Linked DNA regions of Homo sapiens: regions 1, 2 and 4 are each linked to region 3. The links are contacts of gene promoters, found by promoter capture Hi-C in human tissues and cell types (Jung and others, 2019). All regions are on one chromosome and are shown on one strand. The core of a region is centred on a gene start or on the middle of the fragment in contact, and the rest is flanking DNA. Distances in the headings are between cores, read along the strand shown.

Region 1 (5,195 bases), core at 1,177-3,676, 290 kb before region 3:
GGAGCTAGGGGCGCCTGGGTTTCCAGGTGTGAGGGGGCAGTGCCCCTTGGCAGGGACCGGCCTCTGGGGATAAGGGGTTGGAGTAAAGCTGGAGGCCACACTCCACTCCTGCCCGCTCCCAAACCTCCCAACTTTATATCCTTTAATGGGGCCACATCCCATCTGATACGGTATCTGATAAGGTAGTTGGGCCCCGCAAGGCCCAACTACCTTAACCTAGGACCTCCCGACCCCTGCAGGCCAGCCACCTCCTGAAACCACGGCCCCACCCCTTACGTGGGGCTACGCCGGCTCCCTACATCTAGGCCCCCCACCTCCAGCACGCCCTTGCCCTGCCGGGAGTCCCATCTGCACCTCTCTGCAGCGCCACGGGGTTCTGCCCCCGCCCGCGGCGGGAGTAGGGGTCACGGCTCCGCCGCCGCAGGGGCTACATAGCTCCGCGCCGTCGGGGTTGCACTGCCCAGAAGAACACTTTCGGAACGGGGGCGTTACGAAATCGCCGTGGTCATTGAGTCCGCAGTTTTCCCGGAACTCATAGTCTAGCGGGAAAGCTGCGCTCCAGTGCGGCCGCCTAGCCCGCCCCTGCGCGGGCAACGCCCTCTCCCTTCGCCCTATCCCAGCGTGCCCCGCCCCTCCAGGACGCTTCCAGCCTATTAGCGTGCGCCCCGGTCTTGTCACTTTTCTCCGGGCTCGCCTTTTCACCCCCCTCCAGCCTGCTCCGCACGAAGCTCCGCCCACTCCCGGCTTCTCTACATAAAGCCCACCCTTTCCACGCGGCCCCTATCCCGCCTCTCCAGCCATATCCATTCGCTGTTGCCCTACGGTAGCCCGCACTATCTGCACAGGCTCTGCCTGCCATCCCTGTCTGATCTGCATAAGGCCCACCGCTTAGACCCCTAAGCAAGCCTCTCTGGCCCGTAGCCCACAGACCTCGCCCCTTCCCCGCTCCCTATCACCTGCAAGCTCCGCCCAAGCAAGGCTCGGTCTCGGATTCTCACCCGGGCAGGGGGGCGGCCCGAAGCGTTGCAGGCAGCTGCTGCAGCACTTGTTGTCTGGGTTCCAGTATTCAAGGCGGCCGCAGTACTGGGAGGCTTCCGGCGGTGGCGCCAGGGCCAGAAGCAACAAGGCCGTCAGGAGGCATCGTCCAGGCCCCATCTGGGGGGCCGTGATAGCGGGACTTCCAAACACAGCGCCTCTGCTACACTTTCCGGGGAAATCGGGCAGAAGAAAGGACGCGGTGATGTGGGGGAACAGAATTCTCACGCCTCTTCGGAAGCCGGGAATCTACCCCCGAGCCCTCATCCCCCAACTGAGCCGGTTATCAGAGAAGCCCACAAGGCCACTAGGGGACTAACAGGGCTGCGGATCTAGATTGCAAGAATGCATATCCCACCTCTGCCGTGTCCTCACCCACCCACCCTCCCTTTTCCATCCCTAAAATAAGACAATGATAGCACCTGTCTCATAGGGTTATTGTGGAGAATTAGAACCGTCATTAGAAGTAAAGCAGGGGCTGGGTGTGGTGGCTCATGCCTGTAATCCCAACACTTTGGGAGGCCAAGACAGGAGGATCACTTGAGCCCAGGAGTTCGAGAGATCAGCCTGGACAACAAAATGAAACCCCATCTTTACAAAAAAAAAAAAAAAAAAAAAAAACAGCAAAGCACTTTGCCAAGTGCAGTGGCTCACGTCTGTAGTCCCTGCTACTAGGGAGGCCAAGGTAGGAGGATTGCTTGAGCCATGAATTACAGACCAGCCTGGGCAACACAGCAAGACCTCATCTCTAAAAACAAAAAAAACTGGCCGCCGGGCGCAGTGGCTCATGCCTGTAATCCCAACACTTTGGGAGGCCCAGGTGGGTGGATCACCTGAGGTCAGTAGTTCAAAACCAGCCTGGCCTACATGGTGAAACCCTGTCTCTATTAAAAATACAAAATTAGCCGGGCGTGGTAGCGCATGCCTGTAAATCCCAGCTACTTGGGAGGCTGAGGCAGAATTGCTTGAACCTGGGAAGTGGAGGCTGCAGTGAGCTGAGATCGTGCCATTGCACTCCAGCCTGGGCAACAGGAATGAAACTCCTTAAAAAAAACAAAAACAAACTAAAGTGCTGAAAACAGCACCTCACATACAGTAAACTCAGTGTTTAAGTGTAAGGCATTACTAACTCCCATCACAATTCGGCAGGCACGGAGGAGTCAGCCCCATACTGGCTGGAGACCACCTCCCAGCACCTCACCTCACCTTTGAATCCTAATCTCCTTGGGGCTAGGGCTCCTCCCACCTGCCACAACCAGGTCTCTCCCCCTTGAATAAGCCTCAGATGGAGGTGCTAAGGTTTTCAGCACAAAGGTGTCCCCACCCTACCAGTACCGTTAGGGTCCTGGGTCCCAAGCTGGCCGTGCCAAGTTCCTCAGCTGAAGTTGTGGCCAGGACCCAGTCTTGTTTCCCCTTTTCGTCACATGTGTGGGTGGAGGGAAATGCCAAACCACAGCAAAAGCAAGTTGATGCCGAAGTGAAACACGCAGCTTTATTAAGACAGGGGCGGTAGAAGAAGGTCTCCATGCTGAACAGATTACATTATGGAGCCCGGGAGCCTGGGAAGGATGGGGCAGGAGAGTGAAGGGGGCTTTGAGGAGAGGTCCTGCCAGGAACATCTGTCCCTGTTGGGGGTGAAGGGTAAGGGGGCCAGGGCCTCAGAAGCGGCCATGCCAGTGATCAGGGGAACACCGATGGTTCCTCTCTCGGGGATGGTGGCCAGTATGGAACCTCGGGGGTGACCTGGGAATAGGAGCGTTGAGAGTTCTGTTAGAACCCTGAGGAGTGGTGCAGAGATCCTGCAGGCCTGCCTCTCTGCTCTGGGATGAGGCAGGAGGGTGCTGAAATAACTAGAGTTCTAAGACACGACCTCAGTGGCCAGTATCAGGGGAACTCAGTGGCCAGTATCAGGGGTGGCAATCCAGGCTGGTCGTGGATTAGGGGTTCAGGCTGGTTTGGGGATTGGGACTTAGGTACTGGTCTCCAGATGGAGCTCAGAACTACTCTTAGGGTATAAGAGTCTTGGGAATGACCGGGCGCAGTGGTTCACGCCTGTAATCCCCACACTTTGGGAGGCCGAGATGGGTGGATTACCTGAGGTCCGGAGTTCGAGACCAGGCTGGCCAACGTGGTGAAACCCCATCTCTACTAAAAATACAAAAATTAGCCAGGCATGGTGGCAGGTGCCTATAATCCCAGCTACTTGGGAGGCTGAGAAAGGAGAATTGCTTGAACCTGGGAGGCAGAGGTTGCACTGAGCCAAGACTGCGCCTTTGCACTCCAGCCTGCGGAAGAAGAGCAAAACTCCGTCTCAAAAAAAAAAAAAAAAAAAAAAAAAAAAAACAGTCAGCCGGGAGTGGTGGCTCACGCCTGTAATCCCAGCACTTTGGGAGGGTGAGGCAGGTGGATCACGAGGTTAGGAGTTCAGACCAGCCTGGCCAAGATGGTGAAACCCCATCTCTACTAAAAACACAAAAATTAGCCGGGCATGGTGGCAGGTGCCTGTAATCCCAGCTATTTGGGAGGCTGAGGCAGAGAATTGCTTGAACCCGGGAGGCGGAAGTTGCCATGAACCAAGATGGTGCCAATGCACTCCAGCCTGGGCAACAGAGTGAGGCTCCATCTCAAAAAAAAAAAAAAAAAAAAAAGATTCTTGGGAACGTGGTTACTGGGGCTTAGGGTTAGGCTCATCTGAGGATATAGGGGCCTTAGGACATGAGGAGACATAGCAGGCTGGTCCTGAGGTACCTGCGCCTGGGTCCCCGCCCATAGAGCTGCCTCTGGAGGTTCTGGGAAATGGGCCGCAGATGCATGAAGTTGCAGAAGCCACCTCGGGTACATTCCCTGCATAGAGGGTAGAGAGATGGAGGAAGCCATTGTCACTGACAGCCCCTACCACGCATTCAAAGTCTGGGATTCCAAGTGCCCATCCCACCCTTGAACTACCATACCCCATCTCATACTGGCGACAGCATGACTCCCGGAAGTCAGTGACAGGAGACAGCTCACCGTGCACAGCCTGCCCGTTGAACCAGCGGTTACTGAGTTCAGCCACGGCCCGCTCTCCATCCTCCTCCCTCCGGAACTGCAGGAAATGTCAGTCAGGGTCAGCAGGAGAACTCAGAGATCTTCAGGGGACTCACTACCCGCTCTGGGGCTGGACTGGATTTAGTGATGAAATTCAAGCTGAGAGCCTACAGTGGCCACCATCAGGCATTGAAACGCCTCCACTTCTGGGCCCTAAGTGGGGGGCAGCAAGCACCTTGACATAGACGTTGCCCACGAGGTGGTCCCCAAGGTTGTCGCACACATTCATCTCTTCAATCTCCCCATACTTCTCCTGCAGTTCTGTGAACACCTCCTGTGGAAGACGGGGAGGAACTCAGCTGAGCTCCCACAAGAAACCCCATCTGCCCCTACCAACCCTCACCTCGAAGAAGCTATCATAGTGCTCCTGCACCTCCACGTCACTCACATGACCTGGGGTGGGGGCGGGCAGGGTGGAATCAGAGTGTAGCCTACTGGGGGCTGTTCACCTTGCCCCCAGGCCTGGTCCCTTACTCACAGTGTGATCCGTCTGCAGTTTGGGCTGTGTTCTGTGGATTCCGGTACAGGTTGAGCAGCACTATGGTCTGCACAGAATTTAAAAGGGGCGGGGCCTGAGCTCAGAGGGCAGGGCTGCATGAACAGAGAGTGAGGCATGAAGGTTGGGGGTGGAACCTTACACCCCAGCCTAAGCATCATGAGTGCATCGGCGATCCTTTGCCCCTAAGAAACCAGAAAAGGGATGGAGGGGACTGGCAAGGATGAACAGCGGGATGGAAGGGACTGGCAAAGATGAACAGCCGCCGTGTGTAGCCTGTACGCATGGGGGCGCGACCAAGTTCCCGGGAAAACGGCACGAAGACCGGTGGGAGGAGCCTGCAGAAAGGTCCAATGAGAAAAAAAGCCGGGCGGTGGGGAGGGACTCAGGAACCCGGAATAGGCGGGACATGGTGACGACGGCCCCAGAAGGGGAAGGGCCAGGGAGCCGTTAACCCCCGAGGCTCCGTGCCGGGTCTCACCTGGCTGAATGTCGGCTTGTTGTGAAGCCGGGAGCACCGGTCCCCGTGCCGGCAGACCCCGATCTTAAAGTAAAAAGAGCAGTTAACCCTGGAAAA
Region 2 (6,407 bases), core at 2,421-4,920, 260 kb before region 3:
TCTGCATTTACAAAATGGAGGGATAAGATGGATTTCTAGTAACTTCTGTATGTCACATGGTAAATATAATATTTGTTTTCAACCTTTCTTTCTTTCTTTTTTTTTTTTTTTTTTTTTGAGATGGAGTCTTGCTCTGTCACCCAGGCTGGAGTGTAGTGGTGCAACCTCGGCTCACTGTAACCTCTGCCTTCCAGGTTCAAGTGATTCTCCTTCCTCAGCTTTCCGAGTAGTTGAGATTATAGGTGCATGCCACCTCACCTGGCTAATTTGTGTGTGTGTGTGTGTTTTTAGTAGAGACAGGGTTTCACCATGTTGGTCTGGCTGGTCTCGAACTCCTGACCTCATGATCCACCTGCCCCGGCCTCCCAAAGTGCTGGGATTACAGGTGTGAGGCACCGCACCCGGCCTGTTTCTAACCTTTCTAAGCAAACCATACATTTAAATGAAATCAGAGTGGGCACAGTGGCACAGGCCTGTAATCTCAGCACTTTGGGAGGCCAAGGCGAGCAGATCACTTGAGGTCACGAGTTAGAGACCAGCCTGGGCAATATAGTGAAACTCTGTCTCCACTAAAAATTAGCTGGGCCTGGTGGCGGGTGCCTGTAGTCCCAGGTGCTCAGGAGGCTGAGGCAGGAGAATTGCTTGAACATGGGAGGCGGAGGCTGCAGTGAGTTGAGATGGTGCCACTGCACTTCAGCCTGGGCAACAGAGTGAGACTCCATCTCAAAAACAAACAAACTAACAAAAAAATGTAATTGACAAGAAAAATAGCTGTTTAGATATAAGGAGAAATAAAAGATACTATAGTAGCAGAACCTGATCTAGCTGGGTCACGGGTGGGGTCTAGAAGCATTCCTGAGGAAGTTACACTTAAGCTGAGACAGGTAGAAATTATCTAGTTAACAAAGGGCTGTCCTAATTACTCTAGTTGGATAACCGCTCCCAAAACTTAGTGGCATAAAACAATTATTTTATTATGCTCATGGATTCTGAGAGTCAGAGGTTTGGACAGGGCTCATATGGGGACAATTTTTGTCTCCTCCATGATGTCTGGGGATTCACCTGGAAAGACTCAAAGGTGACTTGATAGACTTGATGGCTGTGGAGTAGAATCCTCCAGAACTTCTTCCGTGGTCTTCTCCCAGTCTGACTGGGACTATTGACTAATGCCTATACATAGCTCCATTGGCCTGGGCTTCCTCAAAGCATGTCTGCTTCAGCATAGTCACACTTCGCATATGATGCACCATGGTTCTACAGCTCATTCCAGTGGACGAGAACATTGGTCAAGAAGCTGCATTGCCTTTCATCACATAGCCTTAGAAATCACCGTGTCACTTCCACTGTTTTCTATTGGTTGAAGCTATCCTAGTCCCACCCAGATTCATAGAAAGCAATCATAGAGTCCGCGTCTTGATAAGAAGAGTGTCAGAGAATTTGCAGCTGTTTTAAAATCACTGCAGGACCCCATTCTCCATGATGTGATTATTACACATTGCATGCCTGTATCAAAACATCTCATGTGCCCCCTCAATATATATACCTAAATATACCTGTTATGTACCCAGAAAAATTAAAAAATAAAAAAAAAAATCACTGCAGGGGTTGATGGGGAAACACTAGACAGAAGGAATATCGTGTGGGAAATCCCTGTGATGAGAGTGAGGTCAGCAAATTTAGTACATAAGTAACTGCACATTCACCTCTCCCTCAGCACTCCCTTTCACCAGCCCTTGCTTAATTATTCTCCATAGAATGAATCACCTTCTAATATTTTTTTTTTTTTTCAGACAGAGTCTTGCTCTGTCTCCCAGGCTGGAGTGCAGTGGCAAAATCTCGGCTGACTGCAACCTCCGCCTCCTGGGTTCAAGCAATTCTCCTGTCTCAGGCTCCTGAGTAGCTGGGATTACAGGCACACGCCACCACACCTGGCTAATTTTAATATTTGTATTTTTAGTAGAGACGGGGTTTCAGCATATTGGCCAGGCTGGTCTCGAACTCCTGACCTTGTGATCCTCCCGCCTCGGCCTCCCAAAGTGCTGGGGTTACAGGCGTGAGCCACTGTCCCCAGCTTTTTTTTTTTTTTTTTTTTTTTTTTTTTGAGACAGAGTCTCACTTCAACACCTAAGCTGGAGTGCAGTGGCGCGATCTCGGCTCACAGCAAACTCTGCCACCTGGGTTCAACCCATTGTCTTGCCTCAGCCTCCCAGGTAGCTGGGATTACAGGCACGCCCGCCGCCACACCTGGCTAATTTTTGTATTTTTAGTAGAGACGGGGTTTCTCCATGCTGGCCATGCTGGTGTCGAACTCCTGACCTCAAGTGATCTGCCCGCCTCGGCCTCCCAAAGTGTTGGGATTACAGGCGTGAGCCACCACGCCTGGCCTAATATTCTATATTTTGTTTAATGTTAATTTTGTTCATTGTCTTCTCCCAGTAGCTTTTGAGCTCCAATGTGGGCAGGGTATATTTTCTCCTGGTTTGGTTGTTGATGTATGTACAAATTGATTAGAGTTTGAGTGAATGAATGAATGAATGAATGAATGAACAGACCAAGACCCTCTGAGATGAGAATTTGTTGAGGGCATGACTAAGGAGAGACCCTCCTGTGAAGGGCGTTATTACAGTGTTATCTGGGCATGCTCAGTATTAGCAGGCTCCATTGGGAATGGCTTTATGGGGGGCATAAGCATGATCTGGCATTTCCCCCTAAGCATTTTCCTAGAAAAAAAAAATCAAGGCTGGAGATTGGCCCGTAATAAGCAGTAGAAGGGGAAACAAGAAAATGTCCAGTGGGCAGGGGAGGCCAAATCGCAGAAAGCCTCGGGTTACGTCCTAGGCAAGGTATATGAGGCAACGAGAAACGTCCATGGGCGGAGCGTCCTCGGCATTATGTGAGCGGGGTCGGGATCAGGACTGAAAAGGTGAGACTTGGGACTGGGACTTTGAAAAGCTGCTTAAGGAACTGGGCACTGCTCTGAGGCCGTGGGAGAATCCAATTAAGACTATCAGGGGCTGGCTGGCGTGGTGGCTCACGCCTGTCATCCCAGCGCTTTGAAAGGAGGCTGAGGAGGGAGTATCTCTTGAGCCCCAGAGATCAAGACCATCCTGGGTAACATAGTGAGACCCCCATGTCTAAAAAAAATTAGCCAGGCGTGGTAGCGCACGCCTGTAGTCCCAGCTACATGGGAGGTATCGCTTGAGCCCAGGAGGTTGAGGCTGCAGTAAGCCACGATTGCAGGACTGCGCTCCAGCCTGGGCGACAGAGTGAGACCCTGTCTCTTAAAGAAATAAAAATAAAAAAGTCAGAAGAATGGACACTGGGAGTGGACGAAAGGTAGGGTCCATTGCTTGGTGTTGGAAGTGTCGGAAGCAAAGCATAAAGAACCTGGGGGCTTGTCTCAGGAGGGCGATGACAGCCAATGAAAAGCAGTCATGGGCGTGGCGCTGTCAAACTTCGAGGGGCGGGACCGAGGACACAGAGCCGGGGCGGAGCCCAAGGTGAAACCAATGAGAAGCCTCCGGGTGGGCGGGGCATCGGCCTAAGGCCAAGGGCGGAGCCAATGAGAAGCAGCGCCGCGTTCCCGCTGCCCCCCGCCCCCGTGGGGCGCGCGCCGGAGCCACGGGCAGCCGTTAGGGGCGGGGTCTGCAGCCGCCCGCGCGCGGCTCGCGCCCTCCCCTTTGTGTCGCCATGGCGGCGGCAGCGGCGACGAGAACGGCGAGCGAGGGGTCGAGCGCGGCCGGGGCCTGAGGAGGCTACGCGACCATGGTGGTAAGGGTCCCACGCGGCCGTCAGCCTGTCCGTCCGGATGTCAGTCTGTCCGTGCGCAGCCCCGCCCCGCGCGCCCCGCCCCCGGCCCCGCCCGATCCCGCGGCCTGTGCTTCAGCCGTGGTCCCTCCCGTCCTGCGGCCCCATCCCGGGTCCCAGCCCGTACCTCGACCCCGCCCCCTAAGCGCGCATCCCCGTCTTCCACGCCCTGGATGGGGTGACAGGGACCTAGGGCCTGGGCTGGGAGGAGGCGGGGCTAGTCCAGGAAGGGACCCGCGCCACCCAAGTGGCCCCTGCAGGGGCCTCCTGAGGCTCCTGGGTCCTTCCCCAGCTCCCATCCCAGCACCTTCCTCGGCATCCTTCTGCCAGCCCTCAGCCCTCCCCGGCGGAGCCCCCTCCTCCTCCCCACAGCCCCTTTCTCATTCCCGAGCCCCACCCCCCACCCGCTCCATCCCCAGCCTGACCCTTTTCTTCTCCTTCTCCCTCATTTTCACCCTATCCCAGTTCCTCTCAATCCCCCCCGCCCCGCATCAGTCTGAGCCTTTGCCTCGTCTCTCCAGCCACTCCTTCCTTACTCCACCCCAACAGGCCAGCACTGTACCTCCCTTGATCCTCGGGTCTGCTCCATCTCCTTGTCCTCATCCCCCTCCCCCACCATTTCCCTCTCCCACCATGCTGCTCCCGCTCATTCATCCATTCATTCCCTCACTTAGCAGACATTCACTGAGACCGCCTCTGTGCAGGCCCCACGCTCCAGGCACAGAGAGAGTCAGCTCCCATCCTGCCTTGGGGAACCTTATGGGCTGGAGGGGGACAGACCCTGAGGGTGAGACCCTGAGGGTGACTGGGGGTTGCAGGGACATGGAGCAGGGAGACGCTACAGCCCAGTGAATCTGTCTGGCAGCTGGTTAATTTATTCATCAGATTTTACCCAGTCCCTGCTGCGCGCGACTGGGCTGGCACTGGGGACCCAGAAAAGAATCAGGAACAATCATGTCTGAACACCAACTCAATGCCCAGCTCTATGCTGGGGAGCTCAGTCTGGGGCCCTCCTTCTGGGAGGCCGGTCATAGTCCAATGAGAGAGATGAACTTGTCACCACCAGTGCCATCTCAGAGTGATCAGAGCTGTGAAGGGAGAAGCTCTGGTCAAGGCATGGAACCTGGGATGGGGGAACCTCAGGGGATGGAGAGAGTCCAGAGGAGATGCCAGGTGCAGCCTGAAGGGTCAGGGAGAACTTCCTGGAGGAGGGCACATGTGAGTTGGGACCTGAGGGGTGGGAGTGAGGATGAATGTACCCAGGGAAAGGTGGGGCGAGTGTTCCAGGCTGAGGGAACAGCCTTTGCAAAGGCCTAGAAGGAAATGAGAAGAGGGTGCTTTTTTTGGACTCTTAGAAGTTCAAGAGCTCTGAGAGTGGGGGCAATGGGAAGAGATGGGACTGGAGAGGTAAACAGAAATCAGCTCAGGGAAGTCTCGATTATCAGACCAGAGAATTCAGACTTCGTCTTGAAGACAACAGGGAGTCATTGAAGGCCCAGGATCTATGGAGAAATAGAGCCAGATTTGTGTTTTCTGAAAACGATCCAGGCTATTGCGGAAAAGCTGGCAGGAGGGGAGAGGCTGGAAGCAGGAAGGCTGATGAGATGGGAGTTGTGATTGTCTAGACAGTGGTAGGAGATCACTGTACTCTGCAGGGGCTACGGAAGGGTTTTCAGCAGGGAGAGATGGGACCAGCATGCTCTCCATCCTGTTGCCCCGCCTCACGTCTGGCCCCTGCTTCTCCAGTCCCCCACCCCAGACCACACACGAAGAAGCAGTCCTGTCCTCAGCCCAGCCCTCACCTCCCCCGACCTGCCATCCTGCTTCATGCTCAGGGCGGTGTGTGGAGCGCCCGGGGCTCTGGACCCGCGCTGCCAGATAACAATGCTCTCGTTGTCTCTTTGCTCCCATCTCTGGGGGCCTCTGATTCTTTCTGCTCTACAGGCACGCAGCACTGACAGCCTGGATGGCCCAGGGGAGGGCTCGGTGCAGCCTCTACCCACTGCTGGGGGGCCCAGTGTGAAGGGGAAGCCTGGGAAGAGGTGAGGGTGAGGGAGGAAAGGGCTCAGCTAGGAGCTGGGGAGACTCAAGGAGCTGCTGGTGACGCATCCCCTGTCTCCCAGGCTCTCAGCTCCTCGAGGCCCCTTCCCGCGGCTGGCTGACTGCGCCCATTTCCACTACGAGAACGTTGACTTTGGCCACATTCAGGTATGGGGGCTTTGCATTTGCACCCAGGAGGGAAGACAATATCCTACCCAACCTTGCAACGATATCAGGTGCTTTGCTTCTGAAACTTATCCCTGTGACTGGCTGCTGCACGCGTCTGAGCAGTCAGTAGCAAAAGTTGCAGGAGCCACAGCAGATGGGGAGAGCTGCTCATTCATTCATCCATTTGTTCTTTTATTCATTCAACAACAACTTTTGTTAGGTATCTGCTCTATGTCAGGGACCAGGACATCACCAGGCCCTGTCCTCGGGGAGGTCCAGAAGGGAGTCACAAACCCGTCCCTAGATAGTGCCATCCCCAGGAGGTCAGGACTGGGACAAAAGTCCACCTGGGCCTTGCTTTCCCTCTGCAGCTCCTGCTGTCTCCAGACCGT
Region 3 (6,497 bases), core at 3,723-6,222:
TGGTGCGCATTGGTGCTACTCAAGGAGATTGAGACAGGAGGATTGCTTGAGCCCAGGAGTTCAAGGCTGCAGTGAGCCATGATTGTGCCACTACACGCCAGCCTGGGCAACAGAGCAAGACCCTGACTCTGGAAATATAAAAAATAAAAATAGAGGCTGTGCGCGGTGGCTCACGCCTGTAATCCCAGCACTTTTGGAGGCCGGGGCGGGCGGATCACCTCAGGTCAGGAGTTCGAGACCAGCCTGGTCCAACGTGGTGAAACCCTGACTCTACCAAAAATACAAAAATTAGCCAGGCGTGGTGGTGGGCGCCGGTAATCCCAGCTGCTCGGGAGGCTGAGGCAGGAGAATCACTTGAACTCAGGAGGCAAAGGCTGCAGTGAGCTGAGATGGCGCCGCTGCACTCCAGCCTGGGTGACAGAGAGTGAGACTCCATCTCAAAAAAAGTAAATAAATAAATAAAAATGAAAATAAAATAAAATGTATCCATGAGCAGGAATCAACCTGTGCCCAGCCAGGGTGGTGCCTAGAGGCACTTCTGTCTCTTCCCACTCGACTCTAAGGAGTACTGCTCTCTGTGACGTCAGCACCCAGCACAGGGCCCTGGCACGTGGCAGGAACTCAGTGCGTGGTGAATGAACGACTACATGAATGATCAGATTATACACAGCCCAGGGAAGTGCCACATAGAAGGTGTCTCCAGGAATCAGCCGGCATGCTCCTTTTAGAACTGCAGTCACATCATAGCCCTTCTTGGCTTAGAACCCTCCTCCAGCTCCCAACCCATCCAGAGTACAGACCAAAGTCTTCCCCACGGCCCTCAGGGCTCTGCACATCCAGCCCCTCAGTTCTCAGCCCTCTCCCCTCACTTATTCCCCTTCCCTCATTTCCCACACTGGGCTCCCTCTGTCCCTCCCACGTGCCAAGCAAATTCTTGTCTCAGGGTCTTGGCACTTGCTGTTCTTCTCACTCAGGATAGACTTCCCACACATCTTCACAAAGCTTTATAAATCTTTGCTCAAATGTCATCTCCTCAGAGAGGCCTTCCCAAACCACACTGTCTAAATCGGCACCCGCCCTTCTCCATCTCCTACTCTTTTTTTTTTTTTTTTTTTTTTTTTTTTTAGAGATAGGGTCTTGGCTGGGCATGGTGGCTCACGCCTGGAATCCCAGCACTTTGGGAGGCCAAGGCTGGCAGATCATGAGGTCAGCAGTTCGAGACCAGCCTGACCAACATGGTGAAACTCCATCTCTACTAAAAATACAAAAATTAACTGGGCGTGGTGGTGAGTGCCTGTAATCCCAGCTACTCAGGAGGCTGAGGCAGGAGAATCGCTTGAACTCGGAAGGCAGAGGTTGCAGTGGGCCAAGATTGCACCATTGCACTCCAGCCTGGAGTCCGTCTCAAAAAAAAAAAAAAAAATAGGGTCTGTTGGAATGCAATAGTATGATCATAGCTCACTACAGCCTTGAACTCCTGGGTTCAAGTGATCCTCCTGCTTCAGCCTCCCTGGTAGCTAGGACTACAGTATACATCACCATGCCCAGCAATTTTTTTTTTTTTTGTAGTGACAACGTTTTGCTATGTTGCCCAGGCTGGTCTCGAACTCCTGGGCTCAAGTGATCCTCCCACTTTGGCTTCCCAAAGCACTGAAATTACAGGTGTGAGCCACCATGCCCAGCCCTTTATTTATTTATTTATTTTTATCATAGCTCATATCACTACTTGACATGTTTACTCCTCTTTCTCCCTCCTTCATTTCCTCTCTTCTTCCCTCACTAGGATCTAAATGCTATGATTCTATTCTGCCTCATTCACTCCTTTATCCCCAAGGCCAGGCACAGCACATGGCACACAGTAGGTGCTCAGTCAATCTCTGTTGAATTAATGTACAAATTTAACAGATACATGATTTCCTCTTGGAGTCCACCTTAGCCTTCTCCCTGTCCTCGACCACATTTCCAGATTTCTTCACATTCTGGGACAAAACCTCTCCCGCTCTACAAGCAAGACTGCTTGGAGGGCTCAGCCTATACCCTCCGACCTCCCACTGAGTCAGAGGCCCCAGCCACCTCCAGCTGCATTTCCAAAGGAGATTTTCCAGTTTTCTGAGGTACAGCACCCCCCCGACCTCAGGCCCCAGATAACTTCCTTTTACTTTTTTCTTTTTTTGAGACAGGGTCTCACTGTGTCACCCAAGCTGGAGTGCAGTGGTGCAATCCTAGCTTACTGCAGCATCGAATTCTCAGGCTCAAGTGATCCTCCCACCTCAGCCTCTGGAGTAGCTGGGACTACAGGTACCCACCATGCCTGGCTAATTTCTAAATTTTCTGTACAGATGGGGTCTTGCTCCATTGCCCAGGCTGATCTCGAACTCCTGGCCTCAAGCAATCCTCCCACCTTGGCCTCCTAGAGTGCTAGGATTATAAGCCAGAACCACTGTGCCTAGCCAACTTTCTTATTTTTCTATTAGACTGAAGTCAACTTGTAGTCTCCCTGATCTACCTCTAGTGGGTGACATGTCCATGGATGCCATCTGTCTTGCTCTATCCTGGCAACGCTGACTCTCTGAACCTGGTTTCTGAACCTCACAGCTGCCGGGGATTCCCAGCCTGCATATCTTCCAAATTCCCCTCCTACATCCAACTCTGGCTGCACTCCATCCCCTTCTACCCAGTACCCAGAGGGAGCTTTCAAACTACAAATCAGACCTGCCACTCCTCTGCTCTTAAACACCCTCCCCTTGCCACTCTTCTCCCCTGTCCCACTTAGAATATAACCAAAGTCCTCACTGTAGCCTTGAAGGCCCTTCCAGATCTGGCCTATGCCAACCTCTCACCTCAACCTCGATCATTCCCTGAATGCAGCTCCAGGATCTTTCTGTTCCAAGTTCAATTCTGCCTCAGGGCCTTTGCACTTGCTGCTGTCTGCCTGGAACACTCTTTTTCCAGCTCTCTTATGGCTGATTCCTCCCCATGCTCTGGGTCCCAAACTAAATGTTACCTACTCAGAAAGAGCAGCCCTGACTACCCCTGCAGGTAGCTGCCCCCTAGTCATTATCGTATCTCCACCTTTAATTTCTTTTTCTTTTTTCTTTTTTTCTTTTCTTTTTTTTTTTTTTCTTTTTTTTTTTTTTTTTTGAGACAGTCTTACTCTGTCACTCAGGCTGGAGTGTAGTGGCTCGATCTTGGGCAACCTCTGCCTCCCAGGTTCAAGCGATTCTACTGCCTCAGCCTCCCGAGTGGCTGGGATTACAGACATATGCCACTATACCCAGCCAATTTTTGTATTTTTAGTAGAGATGGGGTTTCACCATGTTGGCCATGGCTGGTCTCAAACTCCTGACCTCAGGTGATCCGCTGGCCTCAGCCTCCCAAAGTGCTGGGATTACAGGCGTGAGACACCATGCCCAGCCCACCTTTTCTTTCTTTCATAGCACTTGCTCCAATCTGAATTTATCTGATTTCTGATTTATTTATCTGTTCACTTGTTTAGTCTCTCCTTCTCTCCTGCAAGGGAGGATCATGCCTGGATCACTTAGGATTAAATCTCCGGCACCCAGCATAAGGCTTGTCACAGAGTAGCAGCACTCGATAAATATCGCTCGGTCAATGATTAGACACTTTCAGTTTCTCCAAGAGGCCGCCCTCTCAGCTCCATACCCTCCTACCTCAGATCCTTTACCCAGCGGTTACCTCTCCTGGGAGCCCTTTCCCCTGACCCTTCTCTTAGTTAACCCCAACTCACCCTCCAGTCTTCTCAACTGTAACCTCCTCAGGGAAACAATGTCTTAAAAAACTCTTGCAGCAGCTTGTTTATGGTAAATACAATTTTCATAATGTCTTGTAATTACATATTTATATTACATTATATTTTTCTTTCTTGCATATAAACCTAAATGTGAAAAATTACATTATGGTTTAATACCTATTTGTGTGGCTGTTACTGAGGCCTGTGAGTTGTCTCAGGGCAAAGACTGGGTCTCTCTTGCCCCCTGCTGTGGCCCCAGCCCCTAGCATAAAGCCAGGTCCACAGCCGCTTTCAAAAAATGATTGTTGAATGACTAAATGATGGAATGATGTGTCATGAGTCAAAGACTAGGAGTATTACAATTCCATTCTCCAATGGGTGAATGAATGAATTAACGAGGGGTGCTCTGCAGCCAAGATTCCTCTGGACCACCTTCAAATTCCCCAGAATTCTCCCACCATCACCACCAGCAGAGCACAGCCCACCCTCCCCGGCCACCCAACGCTCCAGGCCAGATTCCAGGGTGGGGACAGTGGTTACCGTAGTCCTTAGGGAGGGGGGCAGGTGCCGAGGGGTGCACAACAGGCTTCTGCCGGCGCTCCTGGGTGGGGCTGGGGGCCTCGGGGACGGGTTCATCCTCCTCCTCCTCTTCTTCCTCCTCTCCTCGGGGTGGCGGGGCCATCGGGGCAGGATCTGTCTTAGTCATGGTCCTCGGTGGCCCTCGGGGGGCGGGTGCAGAGTTGGGGGCAGCCTTCAGGCAAATCCTGGAGGCAGAGGTCAGCTGGAGAGGGTGCCCGGCAGGCTCCAGGGTCCAAGCCCCTAGGAGCTTCCAGGGCCCCGGGTGGCCTCCGCGCAACTGGATCTTGGGCAACCATAGGGACCCCCGTTACCCATAGAGGGCCCCGGTGTGTGCGCCCAGCGCCTGCCACCTCCCCCAGGCCCAGCCCCCCATTCTTCTCCTCCCGCGTCAGGCCCCTCAGTCGCGGCTGCCCCCTCCCCGGGTTTGTTTATCTCGGGATTCAGGATGCTTCGCCCCTCCCCTTCTCCGCGGGCCGCCCCCTCCCCATCTTACCTCGGGCAGACAGCGCTGGGGACCAAAGTGGAGACTGGGGAGACTGTGGGAGCAATGGGGTGTCGGTGTCAGGGGACGTGATGGGGGAGGCAAGGGAGACAGAGAGAAGGGGACGAGGCCCAGACGCCGACAGGGGGTGGGGGCGGAGAGGGAGGGGCGCGACTGCGCATGCGCCTGCTGCCCCCCTACCGGCGGCGGGGGAGGAGGGACCAGGAGGAGGGACCGGGAGGCGCTCGCATTGATGGAGGGGCCAGAGGCGGCGACTGAAAGGGGAGAGCCTCCGGGCACTGGGAGAGGAAGAGATGGCTACGGAAAGGAGCGAGATGAGCAGATACAACGGCAAAAGAGAGGGCTGAGAGAGCGGACACAGATCTTCTCCATCCCCTTCCCCCACGCCTGCAAACCAGGCCGGTGAGGGCAGTGGTCTTGGGGCGTGGTGACGATGGGGACCCTCTAGGGGACCCTCTCTCTAGGACCCTAGACCGGACCCCTTCTCCAAGCTCACCATTCATAATGGGTGCCTCAGAGGGGTGATTTCCTAGAGACTCCTATCATGATCATCTCATCCTTACCATCATAATGCGAGGCTCACACACTGGGGCCCAGAGGTTAAGCAGCTTGCCCAAAAGTACATGAGTAGGTGATGGAGCGAACATTTGAAACCAGACAGTCTGTAAAGTCTGATTTTTATTTTTATTATTTCCTAGACAGGGTCTCACTCTGTCACCCAGGCTACTGTGCAGTGTTGTGATCTTGGCTCACTGCAGCGTCAAACTTCTGGGCTCAAGCCATCCTCCCACCTCAACCTCCCGAGTAGCCGAGACCACACGTGCATGCCACCATGTCTGGAGAATTTTTTTTGAGACAGGGTTTTGCCATGTTGCCCAGGCTGGTCTTGAACTCCTGACCTCAAGGGATCCTCCTGCCCCTGCCACCCAAAGCGCTGAGATTACAGGCACGAGTCACCATGCCCAGCTTTGATTCTTAATCACCATGCTACATGCCTGTAGCAGTGTCTGGGAAACAGATCTGCCGATTGACCCCTCCAACTCTCTCAGAACCTGTATCTTCCCCACGGAGGCCTCCTGAAGCCAGCCCAGGGTCCTGGCTCCATTGTCATGGCTTGGCTTCCCACCTGGAGCTGTAGCCTGCTCTGCCTCAAATCATCCCAGCCTGGATGGGGCTGGGTGACAGCCTTGAACACCTCATCCTTCTAATGCACAGGTCCAGTAGCTCCATCTCCAAAAGATTTCCAGGATCTCACTCTCCCCACCGCTACCCTGGGCCCTCATCTTGGTCCATCCTTCTTCTTCTGCCACCAGCACTACGGCAGCAGCCTCTTACCTGCTGTCCCCGTCCTCCTCCAACATGCAGCCACAGGGACCCATGAACACCTGTCACTTTGGAGCCCTCTTTCCCTCAGAGGGGTCTGCCTGCTGCACCTCACTCCAGGTAGAAGCCAAGGCTCTCAGCCATGGCCCACAAGGGCCTATGTGAACCTGCCCCATCATCTCTGCACTCACCTCCTCTCACCCTCTTTTGTTCACTCCACCCCAGCCACACTGGCCTCCTTGCTTCTCCCTACCCCAGGACCTTTGCACTGGCTCTTTTTTTTTTTTTTTTTTGAGATGGCAGTCTCACTGTTCCCCAGGCTGGAGTGGAGTGGCATGATCT
Region 4 (6,317 bases), core at 2,736-5,235, 310 kb before region 3:
CCTGCGCTCCTGCAGCCAGGATCCCTATCATGCTGCCCTCTCTGCCTTTCAGGAGCGATGGGCTTTTGGGGGAGGACCCACTAGCTTTCTAAGCTCTCCCGTGAAACTGTGTCATGCTCCATCCCTTAGTGCCGGCGTTGACTGGGTTTTGTGGTGATCCTTGTCTGGAATGAAGAAAGCCTGGCTTGCGCAGAGGTGTTTCCCTGCAGAGGGGCTTGGAGAAGCAGAAGTGGCAGTATCTGCTATCTTTTACGTCAGAGACTGCCAACTGGCAGACTTCCCGCACGCCTGTCTTAAACCCACTACTAGATATTTCTGTTAACTGACTGGCCCTTGCTCTTTAAGTCCTGAATTTGGTCTGATTTCCATTCTCTCGCCACCATGCCTACCTGCTATGATTCTGGATAAGCTCCAATCCTCTCTTGGGTTACTTTATTTGCTCACTCAGGACAGAGGGCTCTGATCTAGGACCAGCAACTCACACCCTCTCCCCTCACATCCACAGGCTTGAAATGAGATGAGATGTTCCTCCCTCCCCTTTCAACCATGGACCTCACACTGTGGACTTCCTCTTAGAGCCTCTGAGTTAGGTACCCAAGCCAAGGCACAATGTCCCTGCCCCCCATAAGACTGCCCAGCCCCTATGGCTCTGATCGGCTGGTACAGCTAGCAGCCAGGCTCCGGCCAGCACTCTGTGATACTCTGATCACCGTAGGGAGCCAGGAGTTCCCCGCCCACAGCCTGGTGCTAGCAGGTGTCAGCCAGCAGCTGGGCCGCAGGGGCCAGTGGGCTCTGGGAGAAGGCATCAGCCCTTCTACCTTTGCCCAGCTCCTGAACTTTGTGTATGGGGAGAGTGTAGAGCTGCAGCCTGGAGAGCTAAGGCCCCTTCAGGAGGCGGCCAGGGCCTTGGGAGTGCAGTCCCTGGAAGAGGCATGCTGGAGGGCTCGAGGGGACAGGGCTAAAAAGCCAGATCCAGGCCTGAAGAAACATCAGGAGGAGCCAGAGAAACCCTCAAGGAATCCTGAGAGAGAACTGGGGGACCCTGGAGAGAAGCAGAAACCAGAACAGGTTTCTAGAACTGGTGGGAGAGAACAGGAGATGTTGCACAAGCACTCGCCACCAAGAGGCAGACCCGAGATGGCAGGAGCAACGCAGGAGGCTCAGCAGGAACAGACCAGGTCAAAGGAGAAACGCCTCCAAGCCCCTGTTGGCCAAAGGGGAGCAGATGGGAAGCATGGAGTGCTCACGTGGTTGAGGGAAAATCCAGGGGGCTCTGAGGAAAGTCTGCGCAAGCTCCCTGGCCCCCTTCCCCCAGCAGGCTCCCTGCAAACCAGCGTCACCCCTAGGCCCTCGTGGGCTGAGGCCCCTTGGTTGGTGGGGGGCCAGCCTGCCCTGTGGAGCATCCTGCTGATGCCGCCCAGATATGGCATTCCCTTCTACCATAGCACCCCCACCACTGGAGCCTGGCAGGAGGTCTGGCGGGAACAGAGGTGAGTGGCGGGGTCTAGTGCTCTGCCTCCAGGCTGGGAGGGCATGGCCCAGGAGGGGCAGCCCTGCTGGGTGGAAGGGCACTGCATCTCTACTGCACAGTTCCTGAGCTGGGGAAGAGACAAGAAGCTGCTGCCACAGGGCACGCCAAAGCCCAGCCCCCGGGGGAGGACTTGGGATACCCCCTCTTCACGAAGGGGCCAGGCTCCCAGGTTTAGCCAAGGCTGTAACTCTTCCCCACCCCATCCCAGGATCCCACTGTCCCTAAATGCCCCCAAAGGGCTCTGGAGCCAGAACCAGTTGGCCTCCTCCAGCCCTACCCCAGGTAAGCCCCTCGCTGTCCTGCATACACCTGTAACATGGTGTCTTCTCTGGGCTGGGGCTCGAGGAGTCCAGCCTGAGCAGGGCCCCTACCTCCCACTGTTCCTTCCAGGTTCCCTCCCCCAGGGCCCCGCACAGCTCAGCCCTGGGGAGATGGAAGAGTCTGATCAGGGGCACACAGGTGAGTCGGGCGGGGGCACTCGTGCCTCAGCCCCACTGTAGCCCTTGATTTCCTGCCTGAATGGTACAGTGAGTTGGCGCTGGGATTCCTGGCCCTGCCCTCCTTTGCCTTCTCTGTCCCCACAGGCGCACTTGCAACCTGTGCGGGTCATGAGGACAAGGCAGGCTGCCCACCTCGCCCGCACCCTCCCCCGGCCCCTCCTGCTCGGTCTCGGCCCTATGCGTGCTCTGTCTGTGGAAAGAGGTTTTCACTCAAGCATCAGATGGAGACGCACTACCGAGTCCACACAGGTATGGGCGCCCTGCCCTGTGTGAACTGTCGGCTTTCTTCCCAACTCCGCTCCTGAGTCTCCACCTGTGTGCCCGGTTCCCGCGCAATCCCCTAGCCCCGTGGCCCGATCCACCCCTAACTTGGCCAGCTTTCGCCGCCTTCTTCCTTCCTTCACCGGCCTCCCCTTCCGACCGCTCTAGGAGAGAAGCCCTTCTCCTGTAGCCTTTGTCCTCAGCGCTCCCGGGACTTCTCGGCCATGACCAAGCACCTGCGGACACACGGGGCCGCTCCGTACCGCTGCTCCCTGTGCGGGGCCGGCTGTCCCAGCCTGGCCTCCATGCAGGCGCACATGCGCGGTCACTCGCCCAGCCAACTCCCGCCCGGATGGACCATCCGCTCCACCTTCCTCTACTCCTCCTCGAGGCCGTCTCGGCCCTCGACCTCTCCCTGTTGTCCTTCTTCCTCCACCACCTGACGGGGTGTCGGTAGCGTCTTAGCCAAGAGTCCAATTAAAGAACGAAAAGCGGGCCGGCTCGGCTTCTGACCTGGCACCGCTGCTACGGCGGCCTAGCAAATTCCGCCCCAGAAGCGCCCCAGGAAGGGCGCCGAGTGCCCTCTCCTGGACGATCGCGGGTCGCAGAAGCCCAGGCCAGCGAGCCCTACAGAGTGAGGACACTGAAGTGTGCAGGAGCGAAGGTTAACAGTAGGGGAGATTGTCGATCTCATCACCATAATAAAGAGTTTCCTGTGCCCTCCCTTCAGGACTAGAAAGCCGAGTTTAGTCTGTGCACACCCCCGCCCACGCCCCTTGTCCTGTAGCGGCCCCTGGTGGCCCTGCGTCCGCTGTCCAGCGGGATGGACACTTCTTCCACCCCCGAGGCGCCCCGTCCTCCCCAGGAGGCAGCCGGCCCCGAGGACTCGGTGTCCGGGCACACCTTGCGGCATGCCGGTCCTGGACTGGTGGGGGCTGTGCGACCGCAAGTCACTCGCCCCTTCCACTGCAATCCACGGCGCGCGGAGTCTGATCTGGGAACGCTCGGCCCGGGAGAGAGAGGAACGCGTGCTCCGACCCTGCTTTCGGCCACCCGCCTCCTCTCCGGGAGCACACGGACCCCGAGACCGCGGCCTCTCCGGCGTCTTCCCTCCACACCGTGCCAAGCCGCCGCCAGGTCGCGCCTGGAACGGAGACTGACTATGCTTTCCACCGCTCCTTCTCCAGCCCACGCCTCCTGCAGCCGCGAACTGCATTTCCCAGGGCCTCGGGGGTCCCGGGGCCCGAGCCCGCGGCACCCTGGGAGTGGTAGTCCACGCGGGCCGCCGGCCTAGCCAAGAACAATGGGAGGAGCCTGGGGCTAGGACCACACCTCCCGGAGACCCGGCAACCCGCTTTCCGGGTCCTGGCCGGGAACCCCGCCGTCCCGGCCCTCGCGCCCTGGCTGCCGGCGGAAGAAGCGAGGCGTCCGGACTACATTTCCCGGAGGCCCCCGCGGTTCGCCCCTCTGCGGCCGCGACGCGGGGGTCTGTGCTCCCCAGGTGCGGTCCGAGGGCGCCGGCCGGCCGCGGACTCCCTCTCCCGTGGTGCCCTGCGCGTGGCCGGCCCGGCCCCCGGTCTCCCGCGGCGGCGCTGGTTGTTGTCGTGCGCCGCGGCCGCCCCGCCCCGCCCCCGCTCTCTCCCCTCCCCCCGGCCCTGCGCACGGGCCGCCCCTCCCCCCGCCTCCCCGGCCCCTCTCACGGTGCCAAGATGGCGGCGGCGGCGGGCGGCGGCAGTTGCCCCGGGCCTGGCTCCGCGCGGGGCCGCTTCCCGGGCCGGCCGCGGGGCGCCGGCGGGGGCGGGGGCCGCGGCGGACGGGGCAACGGGGCCGAAAGAGTGCGGGTAGCTCTGCGGCGCGGCGGTGGCGCGACGGGGCCGGGCGGAGCCGAGCCCGGGGAGGACACGGCCCTGCTCCGTTTGCTGGGGCTCCGCCGGGGCCTGCGCCGGCTCCGCCGCCTGTGGGCCGGCCCGCGGGTCCAGCGGGGCCGGGGACGGGGTCGGGGCCGGGGCTGGGGCCCGAGTCGAGGCTGCGTGCCGGAGGAGGAGAGCAGTGACGGGGAATCCGACGAGGAGGTGAGGCGGTTGGAGGCGTCCCCGGCGCCGGGTGGGGCGGAGGCCGGGGCTTCCAGGGGTCTGGGTTGTCCCGGGGGCGGCGTGGGCAGGCCGGGTCCTCAGGGTTCCTTCGGAGAGACGGGGCACGGAGGGAGGGCGGCTGCATGCAGCTTCCGGGGGAAAGGGCCTCTGGAAGTGGGTAGAGAAGCCCCGGCTGCAGCCAGGCACTCGCGCCCGATGTCGGTCCCGCTGAAGTGTCTTGGGCCGATCCTTTTCGGCAGCTGGCAAAGCTAGGGCGGTGGAGGTTTGGGCGAGGAGGCAGTGGGGACTGCATGTCCAGCCAGTCGTGGTTGACAGCGGCAGCGTGGCCTTGGCAGACAGGTTGGAGCTGTCTGGGCTCTTACCTGTGGGCCGCCCCGCCGGGCCTCGCAACCTCCTGGTTTCTCCAGGGCCCCAGTTTCTCTTGGCATCTCAGGTAGAGTGGTGGAGGGCTTCCTCTTGGGGCTCGGGTTGAACAGGAGTGGGATGAAGGCCGGGACTGGGCACTCTAGCAGGTCAGAGCTCAGCTCAGGATTTCTCCCCCAGCCTTTCAGAACAGGCAGGAAGGTGTGGGTTGCGTTGCCCTGGACGGTTAATAACAACCTGAGAGCTCGCAGTGGAGCCTGTACGAAAGCCATCTGATGCCCTCCCCGCCCCTTCACTTGCGGGCCCCTGTTCCCAACTTAATGCAGAAATAAATTGTGGCCCGAAAGGGTGTCAGTGGAGGTCCCACTTTGGTCTGAATTGGACTCTGAAGGAATCTGAGTATGGGGCCTGCTGCCTTTCCTGAGGAGACCCTGTCGTCTTCTCTCTTGGGCCAGTGAACCATGGCTTTGGCTGTGCTGGTGTGGTCCGGCACTGGGGATCGGAGTTCGAAATACCTGGCGCCTCCATCCCTAGGGAGAGACCCTCTCTTCCACTACCCGCGACCTTTGAGTCTTTTTCGTTCTTTTTAAATAGGCAGGGGTATGCTAAGTGGGAACTGGGGATATTCCTCGATACCTCAGATGGAACGAGGGCTTTGGCACTGACTGCTGTTTCTCCCCTCCACCCCGGTCCCCTAAATCAGGAGTTTCAGGGTTTTCATTCAGATGAAGATGTGGCCCCCAGTTCCCTGCGCTCTGCGCTCCGATCCCAGCGAGGTGAGTGACGGGGGAACTCCACCTCTTTAGCGTCACAGGAATTTATCCTCGCCCTTCGTGTCAGCTCTTCCCTGTTCAACTAGCCTCTGTCAGTTGCCGAATGTGTTCTGTGTTCAGAGTCCAAGCTAGTCTGGGCAGCGGGGGAAACACACAAGCAAGACTTAGTCCCTGCCCTCCTGGAGCGCCTTCCTCTGTGTGTAGGGCTGGCTTGATCCATCTCCCCACAACTATTCTCCTTTTAGGTCGAGCGCCCCGAGGTCGGGGTCGCAAGCATAAGACGACCCCCCTTCCTCCTCCTCGCCTAGCAGATGTGGCTCCTACCCCCCCAAAGACCCCTGCCCGGAAACGGGGTGAGGAAGGCACAGAACGGATGGTGCAGGCACTGACTGAACTTCTCCGGCGGGCCCAGGCACCCCAAGCACCCCGGAGCCGGGCATGTGAGCCCTCCACCCCCCGGCGGTCTCGGGGACGGCCCCCAGGACGGCCAGCAGGCCCCTGCAGGAGGAAGCAGCAAGCAGTAGTGGTGGCAGAAGCAGCTGTGACAATCCCCAAACCTGAGCCCCCACCTCCTGTGGTTCCAGTGAAACATCAGACTGGCAGCTGGAAATGCAAGGAGGGGCCCGGTCCAGGACCTGGGACCCCCAGGCGTGGAGGACAGTCAAGCCGTGGAGGCCGTGGAGGCAGGGGCCGCGGCCGAGGTGGTGGGCTCCCCTTTGTGATCAAGTTTGTTTCAAGGGCCAAAAAAGTAAAGATGGGACAATTGTCCTTGGGACTCGAATCAGGTCAAGGTCAA

The links. Contacts are between HindIII fragments. The study calls those that stand out against the background at their distance.
Region 1: a contact is called between the fragment with the promoter of IGFLR1 here and the fragment with the promoter of CLIP3 in region 3, in 5 of the 25 tissues and cell types used here (aorta, liver, mesendoderm cells and 2 more).
Region 2: the fragment with the promoter of ARHGAP33 here is called in contact with the fragment with the promoter of CLIP3 in region 3 in 1 of the 25 tissues and cell types used here (pancreas).
Region 4: a contact is called between the fragment with the promoter of KMT2B here and the fragment with the promoter of CLIP3 in region 3, in 3 of the 25 tissues and cell types used here (IMR-90 fibroblasts, spleen and thymus).

Annotation. Positions count from the first base shown.
Region 1 is chr19:35,740,026-35,745,220 of GRCh38, forward strand. It overlaps IGFLR1 (IGF like family receptor 1), which reads right to left and starts at 2,427. Exons shown (of 5, transcript NM_024660.4): 1 at 2,371-2,427; 2 at 999-1,198; 3 at 355-539; 4 at 1-63. The coding sequence starts at 1,155. U2AF1L4 (U2 small nuclear RNA auxiliary factor 1 like 4) reads right to left here. Exons shown (of 6, transcript NM_001040425.3): 2 at 5,100-5,187; 3 at 4,298-4,396; 4 at 3,987-4,120; 5 at 3,784-3,879; 6 at 2,502-2,778. The coding sequence ends at 2,694. RefSeq lists enhancers at 1-375, 723-832, 2,180-2,609 and silencers at 513-642, 3,945-4,105. The HindIII fragment of the contact is 13,678 bases long and covers 1-5,195 here.
Region 2 is chr19:35,771,894-35,778,300 of GRCh38, forward strand. It overlaps ARHGAP33 (Rho GTPase activating protein 33), which reads left to right and starts at 3,671. Exons shown (of 21, transcript NM_001366178.1): 1 at 3,671-3,771; 2 at 5,752-5,849; 3 at 5,931-6,015; 4 at 6,387-6,407. The coding sequence starts at 3,766. RefSeq lists enhancers at 3,163-3,222, 5,244-6,129, 6,130-6,407 and a silencer at 3,453-3,932. The HindIII fragment of the contact is 39,613 bases long and covers 1-6,407 here.
Region 3 is chr19:36,027,901-36,034,397 of GRCh38, forward strand. It overlaps CLIP3 (CAP-Gly domain containing linker protein 3), which reads right to left and starts at 4,973. Exons shown (of 14, transcript NM_015526.3): 1 at 4,824-4,973; 2 at 4,292-4,515. The coding sequence starts at 4,457. All of the region lies in intron 3 of LOC101927572 (a long non-coding RNA gene), which reads left to right. The HindIII fragment of the contact is 12,641 bases long and covers 1-6,497 here.
Region 4 is chr19:35,714,018-35,720,334 of GRCh38, forward strand. KMT2B (lysine methyltransferase 2B) reads left to right here and starts at 3,986. Exons shown (of 37, transcript NM_014727.3): 1 at 3,986-4,364; 2 at 5,452-5,524; 3 at 5,767-6,317. The coding sequence starts at 4,002. ZBTB32 (zinc finger and BTB domain containing 32) reads left to right here. Exons shown (of 7, transcript NM_014383.3): 3 at 506-1,490; 4 at 1,740-1,813; 5 at 1,922-1,990; 6 at 2,116-2,280; 7 at 2,461-3,021. The coding sequence starts at 610. The coding sequence ends at 2,735. RefSeq lists silencers at 3,501-3,980, 4,061-4,110, 4,131-4,200, 4,241-4,320, 4,371-4,420 and 1 more and enhancers at 2,539-3,098, 2,651-2,930, 4,218-4,775. The HindIII fragment of the contact is 20,092 bases long and covers 1-6,317 here.